Linked DNA regions of Homo sapiens: all the other regions are linked to region 1. Evidence: promoter capture Hi-C in 16 types of primary human blood cells and fetal thymus (Javierre and others, 2016). All regions are on one chromosome and are shown on one strand. The core of a region is centred on a gene start or on the middle of the fragment in contact, and the rest is flanking DNA. Distances in the headings are between cores, read along the strand shown. Region 1 holds the start of TLE3 (TLE family member 3, transcriptional corepressor). Region 2 has its middle 4.9 kb from the start of DRAIC. Region 3 has its middle 45 kb from the start of LINC02896. Region 4 has its middle 28 kb from the start of DRAIC. Region 5 has its middle 13 kb from the start of DRAIC. Region 6 has its middle 23 kb from the start of LINC02896. Region 7 overlaps UACA (uveal autoantigen with coiled-coil domains and ankyrin repeats).

Region 1 (3,454 bases), core at 6-2,505:
CACAAACACACACACCATAAAGGTAGCAACAAGCAAAATGGAGGTGCCAGATAAACTGCCTCGTTTACCCTGCCATGATAGATGCTTAAATAAACCGAGTTGCAATTACTCACCGGATGTCTGCCCTGCGGATACATGGCAGGGAGGGGTCGTGATTCCGAGAGCGTGGAAGCGCCGAGAGCCCGGGCCGGGGAGGTGCGGGGGAGGGGGGAGCCGAGCCCGAGCGGGGGGCGGCCGGGAAACCGAGAGCTCGCCCCCGGCCCCCCCAGCTCGTTCTCGCAGCGAAATCCCAGAGTCGGGCGCCCGCCCCAAGTGGAGACAAAGAGCCGCGGAGCAGGCGGCAAAGTCGTCGGCGGGCGCCGGGGCCGGGCGGCGGGCGCGGGCTTTGTGCGCCTAGGGCTCGGCGGGCAGCGGCCGGCCGCCTTCCCTGGGCTGCGTCGAGCGCGTCAATGCCTGGGACTGCGCGGACATCGTCGGCTCCCCAGCAGGTCCGGCGCGGGGTCCCGAGGCCGGGGGCCCCTCCTGGGGCGAGCTCGGGCCCCCTCCGGGTCACTCAGCGGGTCGCGCCTGTAGGGGGGCGCGCCGGGGCAGCCCCAAGCATCCGGGGCGCGCGGGTCCGATCCTAGAGGCGTCCGGGCCTGGGGCTCGCGGCGAGAAGAGGAAGGAGGCGGGCTACGAGGTGGTGGCTTGGGGCCGCAGGAGCGCCGGAGGGTGAGGGCGGGAGCCCGGCGCGGGCGCTTCGACGCCCCCCCTCGGAGAGGAGAGCCTGCTGTTCCGTCTGCTACTGCCGCTGCCGCCGCCGCCGCCGCCGCTGCAAGCCCTTCCCAGGGCCGGGGAGGAACTCCGGGCTCAGTAGGTGCAAATCAAACGCCCTGGCATCCTAAGTCCAGCGGGCACGGGAAGCCTCCGCAAAGGGTTCTCGCTGCTCCCAGCTTGAGCACCGCGTCCCCACCGAGGAGCGCTCAGCGCCACCGCCGCTGCCGCGTCGGAGCGCACAGGCAGGAGAGCGCTGGAGGGGAGACGCAGCCCGAGACCGGGGAGCTCTACGGCTTCCTTCCTTCCCCTCGGCCCGGCTCTCCTCTCCGCGCCCCGGCAAACCCCCAAAACACACACACCCAACACACACACACGCGCGCACGCACACACACACACACCAAAAAAAAAAGTGCCCCGGACCTACGGATACCACACACAGACAGGCGAAGGGGACGAGCACGAGGTCTGAACTGCCGCGAGAGCAGTTCCAAATAGGGACTGAAAAGTAACAAAATAATGTGGCAGCTTCGTCCGGCGCTGGCCAATGGGAGCGCGGGGCCCCCACGTGGGGCTGCGGGACTCGGCCTACGACTGGGTGCCGCTGGGCGCGACGTCACAATGCCCTCTTGTGTCTAAAACTATGCATGAAAAGTAGCAATCAGGCCCTACCCGCTGGTGACTTTCGCATGGGAGTGAAAAACAGCGCTCCTCAGATCAGGAATTAACCGAAAGACATATAATAAATAGATATATATTATAGTCCTGGGCTGCTCGAGTTTTTTTCCTCCTTTTTTTTCCCACGGTCTACTAGCAAATAATTATTTAGCGGGAGGAGGAAAGAGGGAAGACAGAGGAATAACAACAAAAGAAAATAAGACAAGCTGTACAATCTTCAAAACCTGTGGCTGGTAGTAATGTATCAGTTTATTCTGCAGCGGCGGCGAACGATTCCTCCCTCTAATCTCATTAGGTCTGCAAAGCAGCCCAATTAGATACTATAAAACAAACAATCACTTTGTCACTTTAATGTTTTCACTTCAAAAGATTTAGGACTGATAAAACGGTGGCTCCTAAAGTTGCCTCCGACCTTTAAAAATTTGCTCGGAACTCAGGATGTCCCCTTTTCTTCACCCCTTCTTCTGCCCGCCTCCCCCACATTAGCCCCCAGCTCTCCTTTGTTCACTCGCCCTTCTTTTCAGAAAGCCAAATAAACAGCTCCTTTGATGTGCGGCGGCTGCCTGCGAGGAGAAGTCTGAGGGACTCTGGCTAGGCGGGCAGCGCAGATGGAAGGGCCCGGCTGCCCGTGGACAACAGGCTCAGCCACGGCTGGCCCCATTCGGGGCGCCTTCCCCGTGGGCACAACTTCACCCTCGACGCAGCCTCGCCGCGCGGGCTCCTCACTGCATCCCCAGGCTGAGGGGGTTGGGGATGGGGTCGGGACCCTGCTCGGCCGAGGCCCGGGAACTCCGAGTTCCCACCTGGTTTGCTCAGCCTGCTCCCGGCAGTGCCACGGCGTTGGCGGAAGCCTGTAGGTGTCTCGGTCGCTAGCCTGGACACTCCGAGGGACGCGGACGCTCCCCCGCTCGCTCGCCCCGGCCCCGGGCCCCCCGGACCCCCCGCTTGGTCGCACAGGCCACTCGACTCCGGGGCCAGCTTGCCCGCAAACCGATGGCCTCGCCCTCCCGCGCTCGGGGTTACGGCGGGGCAGACGAGCAAGCAGGGAGTGGACCTCAAAGCGCGCACCGCCCGGTGGACGGCCAAGGCGGGACCCCCGGGGCCCTCCCCGGCAAGTCCGCGAGCCCGCGCGCGAGCCGGCCGCGCGTCCCCGGATCTATATTTTCCCCTCATTAGGAGCCGGAGGTTCGCTTTTGCATCTTAATGAGGAGCTGAGAGCTAGCGGGCGCTCGGAGGCCGGAGCGCGGGGAGTTACACGTGAGCACCCGCCTCAGAACTGAACCTCCCCGCGCCCGCTCCGGCCGCCAGCCCCGAACCGCGCTCCCCTCTTCATTTATTTATTCTCCTAAATAAAAACATAAATCGTGTTTCGGCGCGCACCGAAGACGGGGGAGGGAGAAGCCCGGCTCGACAGATGCGAGCATCTGGCCGCAGCATTCATTAGAAACAAAATGGCTCCTCTTTGGCGCTTCCTTTCCCCCTCCCCCTTCTCTGCCCTCCCCCTTACGTCACGGGTGGGCGCACCCGCTTCTTACTCGCCCCGCCCATTTCTCGCTCCAGCCCCACGTGGGGGACGCCGACCACGCCTCCGAGCAAGGTGCGAGTCACCAATCACGGACCGCCGAAGGGGCTCTTCGTTGCTGATTGGCGGAGCTGCTGGGCCCTGTCAGTCCGCGGCCAGAGCTGTCAGTCAAAACCACGCGGGGTGGGGGAGCGCTGACAAATGCCGAGGCTTCTGAGCCTCCCGCTTGCAAATAGTGCTTGGAATGGCTGCTTAATTAGCTTTGAATGGCTTTTCCTTCCAGCTCAAACAATCTGTCACTACCATGTGGTATAAAGGAGCCATGCATAAAAAAGTAAGCAGAGGCTAAATATCAATTTGATTTTGTGTATCAAAGGAATATTTTATTTTTCTCCCTAGTAATGAAACGTATCAATTTAAATAATAAAAGGTAAAAACACACACACAAACAAAAAAAAAAAAAAAAAAAAAGAAGAAGGAAAAGAAAAGAGGAAAAAAAAG
Region 2 (3,139 bases), core at 531-3,030, 540 kb before region 1:
TTTGTTGATACGTTGTCCGTGGCTGCGTTTGTACTTGAAGGGCCGAGTCGGGTTATTATTGCAACAGAGATGGTCTGCAAAACTGAAGTATTTACCATCTGGTCCTTTACAGAAAAGGTTCGCGGACCTCTGATTAGACCATGGGCTGGTGGAGAGCAGGGACTGGGTCTTACTCATATTTCAATCCCTAGGCACAGTGCTGCGCACAAGATGGACTTCCATAAATGCTTAATTAAGGAAAGAAGTGTCCAAGCTGGAGAGAATGAAGAGCATCAAGGGGAAACAGTTAAATTACTTAAGAGCAAGAGCCAGTTTTCCTAAGACTTTAAAAGCCTTCATTTACATATACAGAGTTGATAAGCTAATTACACAACAATCTTGTCCTAACCGTTAAATCAGCCCCCTAAGGTCTTGTTAGATAACACCTTGTTAACCTAGTTCAAGGAAACCTGCTGTTTCTCGAAAATAATAAAAGCTCAATTTCTGCAATCCAAACTCGACTCCCCCAACCACTCCAATCTCTCTTTAGTCTGAATTAGATATTAAATCGACATTTCCACTGAATTGGAAACGACCATGAAAATAATCAGTATTGCTCTATAAGTATGGCATTTCTCGAACTGTAGAGGCTGGCTGAGTGCAGCCCTATTTTATCCATCCTGCACTGTAGGCCTAGTCCTCAGGGCCCACATGCTTTCCCAGGACCTAAGAAAATGATCGTGACATGGAAATTTAAAAAGTGTTGCCTCCAAAATTAACATTCCTTGCAACTGAGCAAAACCAATATGAAAAAATGTTTAATTATGAGTCTACTAAGCAAATGACATTATACCAGCTCCAACTCAACTCCTACAGTTATTTATAAATTAGATGAAATGCGAGATGTGGGTGCATGTTAAGATGTTAGTTATGATGTAAGGGTGGTGCCTCCAGATGTGAAAATGGATGCAGAGGAGGATGTGCGTTTTGGGGGTCCCAAAGCTCACACAATTTTAGGACCTTTCTTTAAGAAAATGGATGCAGCACTTGAACCCGGGAGGTGGAGGTAGCAGTGAGCTGAAATTGTGCCACTGCACTCCAGTCTGAGCGACAGAGTGAGACTCCCTCTCAAAAAAGAAAAGGAAAGAAAAGAAAATGGATACAGCAATATCTTACTTCTGCAAATTTTAGCCAAGCATATGACCAGGTGAACACTCAGTATGGGTACTTCCAGAGCTCTGCAATGACCAGTGCAGGTCATTGCACTGCATTCAGAGAGGTTCTGAAGTCCAAGATTCCTCAGCCTGATGGTAAATACTCCCCAGGGTGGATGGGTTGTTACATCAATTATAGTAGAATGAGCTTGGAAAGTGCTGTCACCCCAGGCTTGGAGAGTCACACAATTCCTGTTAACTCTTTAAATGTTCTGAGAAAGTCCTCCAGTTCAGAAAGTTAACTTTATTTGACCCAGAGTTTTCAAAACTTGGTTTTTTTTCTTTTTCTTTTTCTTTCTTTTTTTTTTTTTTTTTTTGCTATAGAGACCCTCTCTGGGTGAACATTTTTGAACATCTCAGAAAGGGCTGGGAAAGGTTGACTTAGTCCCTTCTGCCTTCCGCTGCCCCCGCAATGCTCTTTCATTTTATGAAGAAGGAAACAGCAAGGACTCTGACTTCTCTGTTATCTCAGAAAAGAGCTGAAATTATCCCTCAACCTCAACCTCAGGTTGCAGACACGGCAGGTCAGAGAGGAGTTTTTCTGCAGAGGGTGGTCAGGGAGGAGAGGGGTTAGCTTAGAGGACAGGGCCAGACCTACTCATAAGGTATTTCTAATGTAGCGAAACACTTCCTCCAGAAAAAAAAAAAAAAAAAAAATTCCACACCTTTCTCTTGTTCAGAATTTTAAAAGAATGGGGCATTTTGCTTCAGATGGGGGCAAAAGTGGCTTGATGTGTGGATTCCTGTGTCTCACTTTCTCTTGCTTTCTTCTTTAAGAGTTTAGCCCAAGCCTGGAAACATCATTTTCAGGTCCCTGTGCAAAATGGAAATGCTGGGGCTCCCTGTTCTAGAATTATTCAGAATTTCAAGAGAGCATTCAACCAAGTTGGGGGTGGTGCCCTTTGGAGCTCAGGCCCTGAATAACTAGCCTCATAGGTTGCGTGCCCATGAAGCCAGTCCTAGTTAGTGCATATTCGTGTTTACTTATTTCAAAGTTCAAAGTTCTGAAGATATTTAGAGTCTGTATGTAAGGCCCAGTGGCGTAAGAGCTTTTAACATAATGAGCCAGATCTGGGCACCAGCGTGGAGATGCATTTTTACAGGGTGAATCATTAATTGGGCATTCTAAGAGTCACTCAGCCTTTTCAATGATTCATCAGCCATGCTGATGCTGTTGTGTAGTTCATATTATTGTTGTAATTAGCTGATGCTTGTCAAATGTAAACCTGGCTCTAACCTGGGTGTTTTCAAAAACAGCACTAGTTACTGTGTATTCAGGTAGAGGGGGTCAGCATACTGTAACTCTCTGTTTTCCTGACTTGTAATAATTAACCCCTTCTCTCAGGGGACGCACTCTCATTGTCTTTCCTGTAAACAGTTGGTAATTGTGAGTGGAGCTGTGGAGTGAGAAAGTGGGTACTGCTTTTCCTGTTTCAAGGGCCTGCATGTTCAGAAGCAGCAGTGTGGCATGGGAGATGTTATAGCAGCAGAGTCAGGGGCCAGTTCTTTCACTGCCTGATAACTTGGGCTTTCCAAGGGAAAGGGAGGGAGGTGGTCACTGCGGGTGAGACAAAGAAAGTGCTTGGTAAGGGATTTCTGGGATCCTTGAGCCCAGAGTGGATTAGATGGGATTAGAGACCCACTCTGAGCTGTTTCTACCTGCATCTTAATCCACTCCAGAGCTGAGGCTTCCTGATCCCTCTAACCAGGTGCATGTTCACTGGGCTTCCAGCTTCCAAGCCTTCTACCTGTGGAATGCTTGGTCCAATGTCTGGGGCACCCACTCTTACTCCAAACTCCTCCAGATCTGCAGAGTGGCCCAGCATATTCTCTTCTTGAAAGGAGGTCTTTGCCTAACAGAAGTAAGTCTGTAACCCTAGGCTGATTGGAGAAAGGGGTGTGGTGTTTATGTGACCTGTTTTCTTGCCTCCAGGGCAGGTCAAGGA
Region 3 (3,418 bases), core at 301-2,800, 590 kb before region 1:
GATTACAGGCACCCACCACCATGCCCAGCTAATTTTTGTATTTTTAGTAGAGATGGGGTTTCACCACGTTGGTCAGGCTGGTCTTGAACTACTGACCTCAGGAGATCCGCCCGCCTTGGCCTCCCGAAGTGCTGGGATTACAGGCATGAGCCACTGAGCCCGGCCAGAAGCTGCGTTTATGCCCGTAATCCCTTTGTCCCTTGAAATACTCCTGCAAGTGGGCGTTATCATCCCCATTTCACAGTGAAAGAAACTCAGGCATGGCGATGTGAAGCAATTTTCTCAAGGCTAGTTACGTGGTCTAGCACACGGCACCAAATATGTGCTTTTTGAATAATATTATACCTGTTTTTTTTTGTTTGATAGTGATTTTACCATGAGGAAACTGAGTCACAGAGGAATCCTATCCCAACCACCATAGTTCAACTGAATGGGCAGAGTGTGGAGGCTGTTGGTCCTAGCCTGAACTTGAGATGGTCAATGTTAGTCGTAGATCTTGCTTTTCCCTGCACAACCCCCGGTTGCTAAGCCCCATATGACGTAGAAGCCGTCCTGGAATGCCAGACTGATACCCTTGATTGCCGCGGTGATCTTGGTCTCTGGCTGAGACATGTCAGTTTCAGCCTCCATTAGAAGCCTGAGCACCATTGCAGTCCTCCTATTTATACTTAAAACTTGGAGACCCAGGCAGGGTATGTCTCCTTTCCACCACCTTTGAAAGAACTCTGTCCTTAGACTCCTGGTTTTTCACCCTCGCCTGACCCGCTCTGGCTCCAAGGCATCTTGTTAGATTTAATTGGTCAGCAGGCAATATTGATTGCCATGGAGACCTCTGAAATGAAGTTAGGAATCTGTACTCATTTATGTTGGCTGATAAAAGGCCGACATAAATTGTGTGTTTCTCTTTTGTTTCTTGATGTAATAAAATATATATTAAAAAGAGAAAGCATCATGGCCAGTGAGATGAAAGCTTTGTCAGGGTGCCTGGGGCAGGTATGTTACAGGCTTGCCCCAGCCCCAGCCCCCAGCCTTCTTCTCTATTTTTTTTTTTTTTTTTTTTTTTGAGATGGGGGCTCACTCCCACCCAGGCTGGAGTGTAGTGCTCGGTTCACTGCAGCCTCTGCCTCCTGGGCTCAAGCTATCCTCCCACTTCAGCCTCCTGATTAGGCGCACGTCACCACACCAGGGTAACATTTGTATTTTTAGTAGAGACAGAGTTTCGCTATGTTGGCCAGCCTAGTCATAAACTCTTGACCTCAGGTGATCTGCCTGCCTTGGCCTGCCAAAGTGCTGAGATTACAGGAGTGAGACACGGCGCCCGGCCTCTTCTCATCTTTTCTGGTCTTCAGCACAAGTGTTCAAGTCTACCAATCATTCAACAAGTGTTTATTAAATGCTTAGTGGCTAAAGCCTGGGAAACTAAGCCTCCTGAAATGGGTCCTGGCCTCAAGGAGCTGACATTCTGGGTCCTTGAGGAAACAAGGTGCAGAACAATTGACAATCAGGTTAAGTGCTAAGTGGGGTGGAGGGGTTTGGGTGGTGAGGGAGCAGCCTGGCTGTGGCAGATGAGAAAAGGCTTAGCCCAGGGTCTTGAGTACATGAGAGGGGGCTCATAGAATGAGCTTGTATTTTGATCTATTCAATTTTAGTTTTGAATTCCAACTCTATTTCTTGTTAGCTATAAGACCATGAATAAATCACTCAACCTCAACCTCTCTGAGCATTTTGCTTTGTTTTTAATTTGAGACAGGGTCTTTCTCTGTCTTCCCAGCCTGGAGTACAGTGGTGCAATGTTGGCTCACTGCAACCTCCACCTTCTGGGTTCAAGCAATTCTCATGCCTCAGTCTCCCAAGTATCTGGGTTTACAGGTGGACACCACCATGCCTGGCTAATTTTTGTATTTTTAGTAGAGATGGGGTTTCACCATGTTGGACAGGCTCCTGACCTCAAGTGATCCACCCGCCTCGCTCTCCCTCTCAAAATGCTGGGATTACAGGCATGAGCCACCACACCCGGCCTCTGAGTGTTAGTTTTCTCATCTATTTCTATTTAATCTATAATCATGTCTGCCTCTTGGGGTTGTAATGTGAATTTAAGTGAAATCATGAATGTGACATCATTTTGTACACACAAGCTTAAGAAACTTAATAAACAGTTTCTTTCCCATCCTTCCCTGTATCAGTTATGATCAGGCTTTGCTGTGAGTAACAAACCCCAAAATATCAGTGGCTTAAGCAAGATAGACAGAAATGTATTTCTCTCTCACGTGAAAGATGGCAGGTATGTGGTGCAGGACTGGTGCTCTGTGGTGTTAGAAACTCCAGCTCCCTCTAGTTTTTTGTTCTGTGTTCATGGTCTCTATTCCCAAGATTATGTTATAATCCAAGGCGGCACCCCTAGCATCTCTGCATTGCAATTGGTAGAAAGGAGAAAGTTATACCTTTTCCTGTTAAGGATACATTCTGGAAGTTGCACATACTACTTCTATCATAGGGCCTCTTCCAGCCCATTACCTCTTCACAGCAACCCCATTTTCTTCCTTTTAAAGTGAAGGATTGAGGTCAGGACAGGCTAGCTCTTGTCCCCACAGCTTGATTGAGGACCTGAGATTTGAACCCTAGTCTAATCCCAGGGTCCTCACACCCACCTCTCCCCCACTCCCCTCAAGCCATTTAGATCCAAATCTTCTGTTTCTTAAATCAGCTTTCTGTTAGCATCCAGAATATCTTGGGCTCATTGCAGATGTTTCTTAGAGGACACAGTAGGGTGATGGAACAAAGCTATGTGTGCACGTGTGGGTGTCTATGAAAGAGAAAGACAAGCAAGGGAGGCTGGAAAATACAACCTCTTACCCAGGTGGCCCAGCTAAAACATGGGGTGCGGTTACTTTAGAAACAGGGGGAATTGGATATTTCCTTACCACCTTCTCTTTCCTTGACAAAGGCTTTTTGGAGGCAGTAGAACACGAACTGGGGGTTGAAGGATAATAGGATTCAGTTACCACTACTACCACTACTAATGGTGGCTGAATTATTTATATGGGTCTGCATAAAAATTACCCCAAAATGTAGCGGTTTAAAACAGCAATGAACATTTATTATCTCATACAGTTTCTGTGGGTTGGGAATTCAGAGCTCAGGCATGGCTGAGCTGTGTGGTCTGGCTCAGGGTGTCTCATGAGGTTGTAGTGAGGATGTCAGCCAGGGCTGCTGTCTCACAAGGTTCAGCTTGGACTGGGGCATCCTTTTCCAAGATGGATTGTTCACACAGCTCACAAGTTGGCGACAGTCATTGGCAGGAGGCCTCAGTTCCTTCCCACATAGGTCTCTCTGCAGGCTCCTGTGGCAATATCCCTTATGACCTAGTGTCAGGGGTCACACACCATCACTTCCTGCACACTCCATTTGTTAGAAGTGA
Region 4 (3,435 bases), core at 333-2,832, 560 kb before region 1:
GCCCAAGCTCACCATCTATGGGAGGTGGGCACATTTGTCACTACTGCTGATAGAAGGCAGGCTGCTGCTTAGGCCTGAGCCCCGGGCTCCTTCCAAAGGCATGCTGTGGGGGTGTGGGGAGGGAACACATCAGTTGGGTGGGGGAAGGCTGACTGGGGCCAGGGCAGCTGCCTTTTGAAGAATGAGTGGGATTTGGGCAGGCTTTGGGGGACACCTTGAACAGAGGAAGGTGTAGGGTTTGGGGTGTGTTTGACAATATCTGAGCCTAATTTTTCTTTGCCACTTTCTCATCTCCCTCCCGAGACTCATCTGTCCTGTGGCCAGGTTCTTAGCTGTCCCCTGGCTTCTCCTGCCTAATAGCTTCTCAGGCTATGGCCAGACCTGCCAGGACTCCAGAGTTACCTTTCCTTCCAAATAGGAAACTGTCCAAATGTCACCTGTGCCTGATGGGTTGAGAAAGTGTGTCATATTTATTTGTAGCCTATCCACTTCTGTCAAAAAACTTATTACACTGAACCACATGAAACTGCCCATATTCAGCCATTTTGGAATAAAATGGTGATTGTAGCTTCTATGGAATGCTTTTTGTGTTAGGTGCGGTATATGCATTATCTCATTTAATCAACAGGGAAAACCTATGAGGGAGATAGTGTGACTGCCTCTCCCATTGTACAGACTGGAAAACTGAGGCATAAAGAATTTAACTTTCCCTGGTCTTGTGGAGTGAGGCGTCCTGCCTAGGCTGCCTGGGCCACATGGAAGTACAATGAGACAAAAGGCACAGTGGGATGGAACCTCAAAATGCAGAAGAAAGATGAAAATCCGGAGAGGTAGCTTGGAGTAGAAAATTGCATCCAGTGACCGACTGAGGGACATTTTGGTTGCTGAAGGCAAAATATGGTTCTGAGTGTCCTAACAGAGGAGGCAATTGGTGGTGGTGGGCGGGGAGGTGGGGTGGGGGCATGGATCAGGGAGCAGGCTCGTTGTGTTCTCCCTGACTGTAGGGAAGAGCCTGCCTGTGCAGTGGGACTGCTCCCAGGAGAGGTCTTTAAGGTGCCGTTTCCCTAAGAGGCATGATGAATAGCGTAAGGTACACATCATTGGCCCCAGTTTTTAGAGAAAGAGCAGAGGTTATATTGGTGAAGGGCAAACCATAGTGTTAAGGTCGGAGATTGGGGGAAACATTTCTGTTTAGAGGAAGGACACCAAAGGCTTGATCCCCAGAACGCAACTTCCTGGTGATCTGAGTTAACGTAGGGATATAAGCTGGAGGACCGAGGAAAGGCTTGAAGTGGAAAGTACTTGTTCTATTGTCAGATCCGAGTTTCAATCCCTGCTCTGTAACACATTTGGTGGGTGGCCCTAGGCCAGTTAATTATGTCATTTCATACCAAGGTTAAGTGACTCTAGAGCCCTTTTCCTTCCATACTTAAATATTCCAGAAGAATTCATATTGTAATAATAGGACTTTTTTAAACACTGAAATTGATTTCTAATTTGTGAAGTCAGGTCTGGGTTCAGGGAATGAGGTTGGGCACTCCACTGAGCCCTCTGATTACTAATAAGGCTGGTATATCCTGGTCTTACTTGGCTCTTAGGATTCATTATAACTCTGTTAGAAACGAGAGTTATAACTCTATTAGAAACCTCACCCAACCAATGTATCATGAACATCTCTCCTTTCTTCTTTTGTTTTTTGTTTTTTTTTTTTTGAGACGGAGTCTCGCCGTGTCACCCAGGCTGGAGTACAATGGTGTGATCTCGGCTCACTGCAAGCTCCGCCTCCCAGGTTCAAGTGATTCTCCTGCCTCAGTCTCCAGAGCAGCTGGGATTACAGGCGCCCACCACCATGCCTGGCTAATTTTTTTTTTTTTTTTTTTTTTTTTTTTTAGTAGAGATGGGGTTTCACCATGTTGGTCAGGCTTGTCTTGAACTCCTGACCTCAAGTAATCTGCCTGCCTCGGCCTCCCAAAGTGCTGGGATTACAGGCATGAGCCACCGCACCTGGCCATCATGAACGTCTTTCTATGACCATATTTACAACACTGCCTCATGTTTTCTAATGACAACACAGCATTTCATGACGTGGATATATCTGATTTTTTAAAGCAATATATGTATTTTTCTGCATTTAAAAGAATTTTGTACCAACAGTTCTGTAATGATCAACATGGTACATATATAATAATTGAAAATATTGCCACAAATAACATTTTATATGATAGCATTATGTATATATATATTTTATAGTATTTGTAGAATTTAGAAGAATTGGTGCATTAAATTTATGTGCATTTAGCACGTTGATTACTCTAAAAACAAAAAAAAAGGAAAAACTGGTTTATATTTCTAACAACAGTTTTGAGGATATTTATTTCCCCAAATCCTCTACCCAAGGCTATCTACCACGTACCCATTTTTCTGCATGTTGAATCTTCTTATTAATTTCCAGGTACTCTTTGTATATTACAGATATTAACTTTTCATCAGCTATATGTGATGGTACAACTATTTTCTCTGTTCTGTCACTTTATCTTCATTTATAGATTATTTTGCCATGCAAAAACTTTACACTTTTATGCAATTAAATCTGTAATTCTTTTCTTTTATGGCTTCTGGGTTTAATGCCTTGAATAGAAGGCATATTCCTCTCCAAGATTATATATAAAAAAATCTTTCCTCATACTTTTCTTCAGCTTAAAAAAAATCATTGAAAATACTTTTTTTTTTTTTGTGGGGAGGGGGATGAGATGGTGAAAGTAGTGTGTGGTTAGTGTCCTCTTCACCAGATATTTCTGGTTTTCTTCACTTTGTAGCATGTGGTAGGATTCACATCTTGTGCTCCTTGCGGTTGGGTGGGGCCGTGAGACTAGTTCTAGCCAGAGTTGTGAGCACAAGTGATGGGGCTTTTCAAGAACAGGCAGTTGAATGTGGATTCAGGACTTTCTGGTCTGTGTCTAGACCTTCTCTGGCAGTGTTTGAGATGGTGGCTTCTCCGTCAGCCTGGCTCCTGTGTGATTTCAATGACCAATCTCAATGAACATGTATCCTGAGCCAGAAATCAGCTTTCACTGCGGTGAGTCACTGAGACTGGGGGGATGTTTTACCACAGCATAGTGTAGCCTATCTTGGCTGATACCAGAAGGGATCTAACTTTTGCTTTTTCCCATATAGATGGCAGGTTATTGACTTTCCTTTTTTTAAGCAGCCCATCTTTCCCTGCTGATATAAAATGCCATGTTTATCATGTCCCCAGTTCTCATAAATACACAGGAATATATATCTGAACTCTTTATTCCATCAACCAGTTACCTATTCTACTTTAATACTAATTGATGAAGCTTTATGACACATTTTCATATTTAGCAGAGCATGTTTCAAGCTTATCTTGTTTATCCTTATGAACTTACTCTTCAGACAAACTTTAGAACTAGT
Region 5 (3,435 bases), core at 484-2,983, 520 kb before region 1:
CTCACTGCAATCTCCACCTCCTGGGTTCAAGTGATTCTCCTGCCTCAGCCTCCCAAGTAGCTGGGATTACAGGCATACACCACCATGCCCAGCTAATTTTTGTATTTTTAGCAGGGACAGGGTTTCACCATGTTGGCCAGGCTGGTCTTGAACTCCTGACCTCAGGTGATCTGCCTGCCTCGGCGTCCCAAAGTGCTGGGATTACAGGTGTGAGCCACCATGCCTGGCCATTTCTTTTTTTCTTCTTTAAACTAGCTGTGTGACCTTAGATAAGTTACTGAACCCCTCTGAGTCTCAGTTTGTGCCTCTGCCTCTGTAAAACAGAAATAGTAAGAATAACTACCCCCAGGGGCTATCAGTGACTTCACACAAAGTCATGAATGTGCTCATATTCTGTAGACTGTAAAGCACTCTACCAACATTCACTGCCATTCTTTCTTGATATGCTTTAAAGGAGATGGGGGAAAGAAAGGATCCAGAGCTGGGAAATTCTGCTTTCTCAAATCCTTTCTTGTTACAGTGAGGCCGTAGTCCAGAGAGTTTAAGCAGACAGCTCTAAGTCACAGAGGGCAGGAGGCAGGGTTTGCATTGAGCAGTGAGGGTGGGTAGGGAATGAGGGGACTGTGCTAGCGCCCAGAGACTGGACCACGATGAGACCCTGGAGGAACCCTGCAGGAGGGTATTAGGGCAGGGGCAGCGAGGTAGGGGGAGCCAGGTGGGCAGTGGGCTAAGGACACAGTGCTGTCGAGTGGGGATATGCCAGCCCTGGTTACCAAAACCCACGTGGGGGTTTCTGAGTTCAAAGGCATGTGGATGGTGCAGCCCCCTGCTGAGATATGACTGCAGCTTTGGAAACATGATAAAATAAACACACGACGTGGGTCTTCAGACCACCCCCGATTAGCAGCTAAAGAGGTGGATGGGTAGAAGAAAAAGCAGAGGTTTTCAAAGAACAAAAATACAACAAGGCAGCACATCCGTCCCCGAGGTTGAGAAATGTGGGCTGCACTAGTTTCCGCATCATCAGAACTGTGCCCGAGTCAGCACAGTTCTGAGCACAGGGAGAATGTAGAGCACGTGGGGCAGGGAGGCAGGGTGCATGTACCTACGAAGTGCTGCCCCCACACACATCCCTTAAAGGAGAGTTACCCTAGAAATGATCTGAGGATTCTGGTAACAAGAGTTGTCATTCAAGATAGGCCTGACTCATTTCTTCCATGAAGGAGGAACTGAACAGTCAGCAGCAGAGATTAGAATTCTTATCCAGGCAGATCTTGAGTGCTTCCCTCCCTCCTACCAAAGTATTCTCTCTTTTGGCATCTCCCTGCCTTATATTTTGCCATTACGGGTTGATCCTGTTGGCTTGTCAGTCTCCAACAGTTCTCTATACAGACGCAAATGTTCTGGAGAGGCAGGCCACAGGTCAGCCCCAGACTGTGAACCCAGCTCAGGCAGCCAGGACCCAGGACTGGTTCCATCAGGGGCATGAGGGCCCACAGGAGTGAGCGAGGGAGAAGGATGAGGACAGTGATTATTGTTCCCCCTGTATGGATGAGGAAACTGAGACTCAGAGGAGTAAAGAAAGCAATGAGCAGTCTGAGGTTGGGGAAGGCCAAACCTCACTTCCTCCTCCCAAATCATGTGTCTTCAGAGTACATTCAAGGGCAACTCCACGCTCTGTGTTTCAGAGAAAACAATCCTTCATGGCTGTGCCCACGCTCTCCTCCCACACCACCAGATGTGCAGGCAGCGTGGGGTCTCTCCAGCATCCCCTGTTCAGACGGCCCGTTCGGAAACTGGACATAACTGTGACTTGTGTGCCTGGCTCTGAATAATCAGTTAGGCCAGTGAAATGGGAGTCTCTCTGTGTGTCTGGAATTTGAACTGAGACCCTAAGTTGGGACCACTCAGAAGTCTGGGAGACTCAAGAGTGAGGTGGCCATTACAGAGCCACACACAGCACAAGGTATTAAGTCAGGAGAAACTGAGGCAGCCAGACAGACGGGGAAGGGAGCAGGGCACAGAAAAAACCAATGAGGAGAGATACCCAGGGGAGAGGCCAGAGCTGCCTGATCAAGGACGATGCCCACCTCCAGGACAGGGACTCTTAAAGTCTGCCCAGGGATGGCAGGGCTGCCATGGAGCAGTATCCCCTGAGATATGGCTCTCATTTTTCTGCTTTCCTACTGGTGTGTTTTTTTGCCACTCTCTAGCCCTGGCTGTACCACTGAGGACTGAATTTTAACAGGCAGCAGGAAACTGGGATTCTTAGGTTGCAGGTCACTGGATCAAGAGGCACCACATCTACGTGTGAAGCAGGGATTACTGCCCCTCACTGCTGATATGGGATGCCAACATACCGCCCTGAGACCCTGCACCTGAGGACGATGCTGCCCCTGGGGCGGATCTAGGGCTGCGTTCCCTGGGGAGGGATGAGGTACTTTGCTTGCAGGAGGGAGAATGAGCCGGAAGCCATCAGTAGTCAGGAATGTGCCCTTTCAGTGTCCCTAGCTCCTGACTTCTGGGCACCTGGTGGGATTGCACTTTCTGCCTCTTTTGCTTGGGTGGGGCTGTGTGATAGATCCCACCAGTGAGCTGTGAGTGGAAGTTTTTCACTGTCTGTGTGAGGCCCTCAGTCTCTTGCTCTCAGTCACTGTAGCCAGCATCATTCCAGATGGTGGTGGCTACTGCCTCAACCTGGATCTTAGAAAATGGACACAGAGCTTGTCCAGCTAAATAAACCTGCCTGATTTGGAGCCATTTCGTGTTGGGGATTGTTTGCTACTACACCACACCCTGGGTGATCTGGCGGGTGCATTGCCTTAGCCAGGGCTTCAGCATCACACATTTCCTGGATCCTTCTGGGAAGTAGATGGAGGGCTGCTAAAAGCTGGGGCAACCCTAGGGGCTGGAGACATTCCCTGGGTCCCCCTGCCAGCCACAGTGCCAACCCTCAGGCTGTGGCACGGGAGTGCTGAACAGCAGAGGGCACCAGAGGCCTGTTTCTGCCTTCCCCATCCTGGTGCCATCATGGGGGTTGGTGGCATCAGTATTGCTGGTATTGTAGGAGGGTAGCATTTGGACCTACAGCAGAGAGAGATCTCGCTCCTCTTCTGTCACTGTGGTTGTGGGCAAGTGTTTGGAAGATGCAGACTCACCCTTCAGTAGGCTTCAGACAATATCTAGGGACCAGGGTCGGGGCACCCACCACAACTTCCTCTGGCCCTTTCTCTCTTGGGCTGGCCCCACCTTCAGTTGTCATCTGTCAGGCCCAGGGGTGGGGAGGAAAGCCAGGAGCCAGGATACAGCAGAACAGGCACAGGCAGCCTGACTCAGCACACAGCAGTGTTTTCAGGCCATCCCCTGTGGCTTTTCCTCTTCCATGCCTCAGATCCCACCACTATACTTTTGCCCATTTAGCACCCTACTTTCAAT
Region 6 (3,117 bases), core at 158-2,657, 610 kb before region 1:
TCTTGCCCTGTGCGCAGTGCAAAGGGAAAGGTATAATATATCACAATCAAAAGACAGAAGATTTCAATCTCCCCAGAAAGTTCTCTGTGTCCTGTTTTACCCGCCCTCCATCTGCTTTTGATTCTGATAGCAAGAGTGTTATTTGGTCCCTCTTCCCATTCTTTTTTCTCTCCCTCTCCCTCCATCTCCTTCCATCATTCTCTCTGTTCCTTCCGCTGTGCCCCTTTCTACTCTCCTAAGCTTGCTGGGAGCCTGGCTCACCTGCTGAACTACACTGGATGCTCTTTGAGAGTAGAAGATGCACCGTGTTAGCTTTTCCATCTGCTCCCATCCCCTGTGAACATGTATCTCAGATGGCAGCCAGTGGCCCCAGCCCCTGAAAATCTGAAAGGGCGTGACTGAAGTCCTCATTTCATGCCTGAGGGAACCCAAGGCCCTGTAAGATGCAAATTCCTGCAAACTGTCCCCATCCACGTTGGCTTCAGACTGCTGCCTCAGTGGCGTCTGATTTTCCTTTCACTGTGAGTTTCAGCTGTTTCTTTATCTCTTCCCTGCAGTTGGCCCAATCGTAGGGCCTGGAACTTTCTCCTTAATCTTCCCATTCTAAAGCCACTGCAGGTAGTAGAAAAGCGACAGAAGATTCTTGGGTCACCAGGAGGTGTCTCAATGTGCTCCAAACAGCGATAACATCAAAAACCTTTCACGTTTTACATTTTACTTTGAAAAAGTTCTGCCAGCCTCCATGTCAACTGGCTAGTCCTTCCCCTCCCTTTTGAGTGACGAACTTCCCCCAACACCTGTGGGTCCAGGCCATCGCACTCTGGAGCAAACCAGCCAGGTTCTTTCCATTCTGGACCAGCTCTGCAGGACCAAGGCCACCTGTGTTCTCAGTCAACACTGTAGCAGAGTTCACCATCAGCAGGAGGTGCTGGAGCTACGGCTCCCATGGGACCCCAGAGCCTCCTCCATGGTTCCCTCAGGATTCTGGAAGCTCCATCCTGTTAGGTTTGGCCAGAGGCTCCCTGCCTCAGGGGCCTTCTCTCTCTTCATGTCAGCTCCAGTGGGACCTGGCATAGCTTCATCCTGGGATTGGAGTCAGATCTCAAACAAACCGCCTTTCTCAGGGAGACAAGCACCCCAGAATCCACTAATCTCCTTCTCCAGCAGCATCGTGTTGCTCTTTGTGATCTTAATCTCTCTTGGCAGACCATGCTGGAAAAAGTGCCAGGGGAAACAGGATCTTTCTGGGTAAAGCCAGGGCTACCTCCCAGTCCACTCCCTCACACCACTGGGTGTGCCCTGCCCAGGAAGGAGCGCTTCCTTACAGTGGCGCCTAGCCACAGCCCCACAATTACAAGCTCACGAGTTCTCAGAGCTCCCTCTAACTCTCTCTTCGGCTCTGCCAGCCCAGTGCTAGGCTCTGGGCCACTGGGGTTCAGTGAAGGGTCTCCCAGCTCATGTCCCCTCTGCATGGAGGAGGATGTATGGAGAAGAGGGAAGGGAAAGAATTGGGCTTCCAGATCAGAGGATCTGGGCTTGCCCGCTTTGCCCAGGCAGGGTAGGTCACCATGTAGCTGGCTATGTGACCATAGGCCTCAGTGTATGCATCTGTAACCAGGGCATAATATGCCACAATCAAAGGATAGAACATTTCAATCTTCTCTTTGATTGAAGTTCTCTCATGTCCCTTTGTACCTGCCTTCCACCTGCTTTCGGTTGGGGTAGCTGGAGTGTTGGATGATGGAGCTATACAGACAGATTATTTCGTGTCTGGCTCTTGCACTCGGCGTGATGTCTGTGAGACTCAACTATGTTGTTGGGTAGATCAGTTGTTTGTGCCTTTGTCATGCTGAGGAGTAATCCATTGTATGGATAGACCAGAATTTGTTCATCCATTCACCTGTTGTTGGACACCTGAGCTATTTTTGGCTTTTTTCCAGTTTTGGCTATTATGAATAAAGCTCCTAGAAACTGCCATGTACAGATTTTTGTGTGAACATAAGTTTTCATTTCTCTAGGGTAAAACCAGGGAGAGCAATGACTGAGCCATAGGTTGAATAAAATGAAAATTTTATAAGAAATTGCTGAACTGTTTTCCAGAGTGGCTATACCACTTTGCATTTCCACTAGCAGTATATGAGCATTCCAGTTGCTCCACGTCCTCATCAGCACTTGGTACTGTCTGTCCTGATTTCTTCCTCCTCTTGTCTCTATCTGCAGCCATTCCCTGTGACCCCAGGCCTACCAGTGCTTCTTATACTCTTAAGCTCTCCTGCTGTCTCCCATGCCTGCTTCTCAGGCCTGGCTGAGGCCTTAGCACGGGTGGGGACTCTGGGGAGATGCAGAAACTTTCAGGTCACCTTTATTTGAGATCTGACCTGAGATATAAGTTTAAATGTAGCCTTTTAACTCTACAAAGCAGATAACTTGGGACCTTTTCAGAATCTCTTGGCTCCCTGTCTCAGGGCCAAGAATCTTACTTTGCTCATTTTAATGGTTCCTTTCTAATTATTCAGGTCCATGCTCAAATGTCACCTTTTCAGAGAGGCCTTTCATGACCTCTGGGAGCAGAGCCAAGCTTTGTGGAGCCTGATGTTTATGTGATTTTTGAGAGTGGTTTTTAGGAAAAAGAATACACAATTGTGAATACAAAATTTGGTCAGGAAGCATTTATTGTGGGAACAAGAAGGGACCCAAGTGAGCAAGGGGCCCTAAAGCTTAGCTTTATTACCTCGGGGTAAATTCACTTCTGCTGACCTCACTACATGAGTTCCTGCTCCTCCATTCCTCTAGTTTAGCCCTGTTCCTTGGTGTCTTCATTTTTACAGCATGCACAGCTACTGATGTCATATTCTGTTTGCTGTCTGACTGGAGAGCATGCTCTATGAGGGTGAGGGGTCATTGGTTCACTGCTACACCCCTGGCCCCCAGAATAGTACCTGGTACATGGTGAGTGCTGGATAATTATTGATTAAACACATGAATAAATGCCTTTTGAGTACTACTGGTTTTCTATTTGTGGAAGTGAGTTTGAGTTTTTAAAGTGAGTCAAGTTATAGAAAAATATTAAGCTCATGGTGCATGGTGGTGACACACAGAAATGGCCAAGGTCACAGT
Region 7 (3,159 bases), core at 242-2,741, 580 kb after region 1:
ACAAAAAGAAACAACACTAGCAACACTTAGAGAGATCAGCTGGGAATAAAGTACTTCACTAAGCATTTTAATAAAAGCAGCCAAGTGTTTTAAGAAAAAACTTTATTGCTCAAAAGAAAAAAAAAAGTGAGCCCTAAATGAACTGAAACAACTTTCAAAGACTACTGTTTGCTACTGCTTTACCTCAAAAGGAAGGAAGTGGCCACATTCATGTCAATAACTCATTTTACTTTACCACTGTAGGAAGCAGAAACCCTACCTCATTGACTATGAAATATCAACATAACCACTTCTTCCAGAGTTTATAAAATACCAAGTACTTTGAAAGTAAAAAGAGAGAGAGAGCAGGAAATGAAACTGAGGCAGAGACCTACACATAGTAATAAATCCATCAATCCATTAGTTAGGAAATAATAGAGAACTCTAGCTACAGTGAATCAAAATATACTGGGTTGTTCCTTTTCCCAAGTAAGCCAAATACAAAGAATCTAATATATAAATTAAAATACTACACTTCAAGGGTAAGAATAGGCCAGGCACAGTGGCTCACACCTGTAATCCCAGCACTTTGGAAGGCTGAGACAGGCAGATCACTTGAGCCCAGGAGTTCAAGACCAGCCTAGGCAACGTGGTGAGACCTCGTCCTTACAAAAAAATACAAGAACGAGCTGGGTGCGGTGGCTCATGCCTGTAATCCCAGCACTTCGGGAGGCTGAGGCAGGTGGATTGCCTGAGGTCAGGAGTTCAAGACCAGCTTGGCCAACATAGTGAAACCCCGTCTCTACTAAAAATACAAAAAATTAGCTGGGTGTGGTGGCGGGCACCTGTAATCCCAGCTAGTAGGGAGGCTGAGCCAGGAGAACTGCTTGAACCTGGGAGGCGGAGGTTGCAGTGAGCCGAGATCGTGCCATTGCACTCCAGCCTGGGCAACAAGAGTGAAACTTCGTCTCAAAAATAAATAAATAAATAACAACAAACACACACAAAAACATTAGCTGGGCAGGGTAACCCAAGGTACTCAGGAGGCTGAGGTGGGAGGATCACCTGAGCCCGGGGAGGTCAAGGCTACAGTGAGTGGTGATTGCACCACTGCACTCCAGCCTGGGTGACAGAGTGAGATCCTGTCTCAAAAACAAAACAAAACAAAACAAAAAACCCCAGAGTGAAATGAAGAGTAAGGACAGGCAGATGTAGTTCATATTTGTATATTTAGGTGTATCAGTCCTAAAAGCTACATACCAAACTCTGAAGTAGTTGACCATGATAAAACAGTCCACAATTCCATGACTAAATTAATGCCACCTCCATTAATCATTAGTGCCCCCACAGTATGAAAAAATACCTATAAGCTTAGTTAAGCTCTTTGTTCTATGGAATATTTAATACTAAAGTTTACAATAACTACTAAATGGCCTCATACATGTATTAGGGGGTGCTATGCACATAAGGAGTTCAAAAAACTTAATTTGGTCTTATTATCTCTATTACTCAAATGAAAACAAATATAAAAGTTGTAACATAAAATCAGTCTCATTCTAAAATATCCATTTTCCCCATATTTTTATACATACAAGGGAAATAGCTACATGTTAAGTTATTATACATAACTCGTAACAGTAATTCCTTTGACAGTTAAGCTTTTTTAAGCATGTGAGATAATACAGCAGTAGATATTCAATGTTTGTAAATGATGAATTCTTAGTAGTTTGTTGGTTGGTTGGTTGGTTGGTTTTGAGACAGGGTCTCACTCTGTTACTCAAGCTGGAGTGCAGAGGCATGATCTCGGCTCATTGCAGCCTCCACCTCCTGGGTTCAAGTGATTCACCTTCCTCAGCCACCCAAGTAGCTGGGATTATAGGCATGCACCACCTCGCCCAGCTAATTTTTATGTTTTTGGTAGAGACGGGATTTCACCATGTTGCCCAGGCTGGTCTCGAACAACTGAGCTCAAGCGATCCAATTGCCTCGGCCTTCCAAAGTGTTGGGATTACAGGCTGAGACACCACACCCAGGCAAATTCTTAGTAGTTTTTAATGGTTGCTGTTATAAATACTGGGTCACATATAAAGTGGGACCTGTAATTTTCTGTTTGAAAGTAAAAAATCATATCTAGCATAAAATTTCATCACAATGAATACGTAGTGACTGAGGAAAATGTCCCCATCATACTGAATGGGAACAGTTACAAAACAGGATGTACTATATGATCCCACCTGTTGAATGAGTATATAACACACAAATTATGTACAAATGTCTGAAAGGATTTCAGTCAGGTGCTAGCAGAGTTAAGATTATAGGTGTCTTTTGCATCTGCTTTCAGTTTAAATATACTTTCTTATTTTTCTAAAGTAAATAAGTATTTTTATAAGAAAAATAAGTTACTTTTATGACTATTGTAAGTTATAGACTTGACATTTTAGACAAATTGTTTGTCTAAAGCTACAGAAAAACATCTTTTTTTTTCTTCCCCTTGAAACAGAGTCTCACTGTCACCCAGGCTGGAGTGCAGTGGCGTGATCTCACTCATTGCAACCTCCACCTCCCAGATTCAAGCAATTCTCCTGCTTCAGCCTCCTGAGTAGCTGGTATTACAGGCATGTGCCACCACGCCCTGCTAATTTTTGTATTTTTCGTAAAGACGGAGTTTTGCCATGTTGGCCAGGCTGGTTTCAAACTCCTGACCTTAAGTGATCCACCCACCTTGGCCTCCCAAAAGTGCGGGGATTACAGGCGTGAGACACTGCGCCTGGCCTATACCTTACACTTAAGACATGCGAAAGTCTAGCTCCTAGAAGAAATACATACATAAATAGTACCGAAATTATATTATACTTTGATTAATACTTAAAAGGCCCTGTATATACTCCTAAATTTTCTCATTCAAGTAATTCTAAGTGTAAAACTAGCATTGTAGTTAAAAGCACAACAGATGCTTGGGTTCAAGTCCTGACTCTGTCACTTATTATTTGTGAAACCCCTCATGGGTAAACCTCTCTGTGCCTCAACCTCCTTACCTGTGAAGTCAGGTAACAATAAAACTTATCACATAGAGTTGATTTCTTTTTTGAGGTACGACAAGAATGCAAAGTACATGGTCAGTGCTATTAAAATATTAGCAATCACCAGTTTCACAATTAGCCTAAAAAAGAGTCTTCAAAT

The links. Contacts are between HindIII fragments. The CHiCAGO score rates a contact against its expected background, and 5 or more counts as called.
Region 2: a contact is called between a fragment that was not itself captured here and the fragment with the promoter of TLE3 in region 1, in 1 of 17 cell types (activated CD4 T cells). The highest score is 5.3, in activated CD4 T cells.
Region 3: a fragment that was not itself captured here is called in contact with the fragment with the promoter of TLE3 in region 1 in 2 of 17 cell types (erythroblasts and M1 macrophages); the score reaches 7.1 in erythroblasts.
Region 4: a contact is called between a fragment that was not itself captured here and the fragment with the promoter of TLE3 in region 1, in 4 of 17 cell types (M2 macrophages, M0 macrophages, neutrophils and 1 more). The highest score is 6.9, in M2 macrophages.
Region 5: a contact is called between a fragment that was not itself captured here and the fragment with the promoter of TLE3 in region 1, in 15 of 17 cell types (M0 macrophages, total B cells, naive CD8 T cells and 12 more). The highest score is 15.3, in M0 macrophages.
Region 6: a fragment that was not itself captured here is called in contact with the fragment with the promoter of TLE3 in region 1 in 6 of 17 cell types (erythroblasts, non-activated CD4 T cells, M1 macrophages and 3 more); the score reaches 8.3 in erythroblasts.
Region 7: a contact is called between a fragment that was not itself captured here and the fragment with the promoter of TLE3 in region 1, in 3 of 17 cell types (naive CD4 T cells, non-activated CD4 T cells and total CD8 T cells). The highest score is 7.4, in naive CD4 T cells.

Annotation. Positions count from the first base shown.
Region 1 is chr15:70,096,662-70,100,115 of GRCh38, forward strand. TLE3 (TLE family member 3, transcriptional corepressor) reads right to left here and starts at 1,256. Exons shown (of 20, transcript NM_001105192.3): 1 at 114-1,256. The coding sequence starts at 137. RefSeq lists silencers at 395-514, 525-694, 2,284-2,363, 2,434-2,583 and enhancers at 1,514-2,488, 2,576-3,454. The HindIII fragment of the contact is 8,963 bases long and covers 1-3,454 here.
Region 2 is chr15:69,555,279-69,558,417 of GRCh38, forward strand. No RefSeq gene overlaps it. Among named protein-coding and RNA genes, the nearest start is that of DRAIC, 4.9 kb to the right of the region's middle. RefSeq lists an enhancer at 2,782-3,139. The HindIII fragment of the contact is 3,982 bases long and covers 1-3,139 here.
Region 3 is chr15:69,505,576-69,508,993 of GRCh38, forward strand. No RefSeq gene overlaps it. Among named protein-coding and RNA genes, the nearest start is that of LINC02896, 45 kb to the left of the region's middle. The HindIII fragment of the contact is 1,165 bases long and covers 969-2,133 here.
Region 4 is chr15:69,532,370-69,535,804 of GRCh38, forward strand. No RefSeq gene overlaps it. Among named protein-coding and RNA genes, the nearest start is that of DRAIC, 28 kb to the right of the region's middle. The HindIII fragment of the contact is 3,513 bases long and covers 1-3,339 here.
Region 5 is chr15:69,573,168-69,576,602 of GRCh38, forward strand. No RefSeq gene overlaps it. Among named protein-coding and RNA genes, the nearest start is that of DRAIC, 13 kb to the left of the region's middle. The HindIII fragment of the contact is 4,104 bases long and covers 1-3,435 here.
Region 6 is chr15:69,483,788-69,486,904 of GRCh38, forward strand. No RefSeq gene overlaps it. Among named protein-coding and RNA genes, the nearest start is that of LINC02896, 23 kb to the left of the region's middle. The HindIII fragment of the contact is 2,338 bases long and covers 239-2,576 here.
Region 7 is chr15:70,672,147-70,675,305 of GRCh38, forward strand. All of the region lies in intron 13 of UACA (uveal autoantigen with coiled-coil domains and ankyrin repeats), which reads right to left. Among named protein-coding and RNA genes, the nearest start is that of SALRNA2, 38 kb to the left of the region's middle. The HindIII fragment of the contact is 288 bases long and covers 1,348-1,635 here.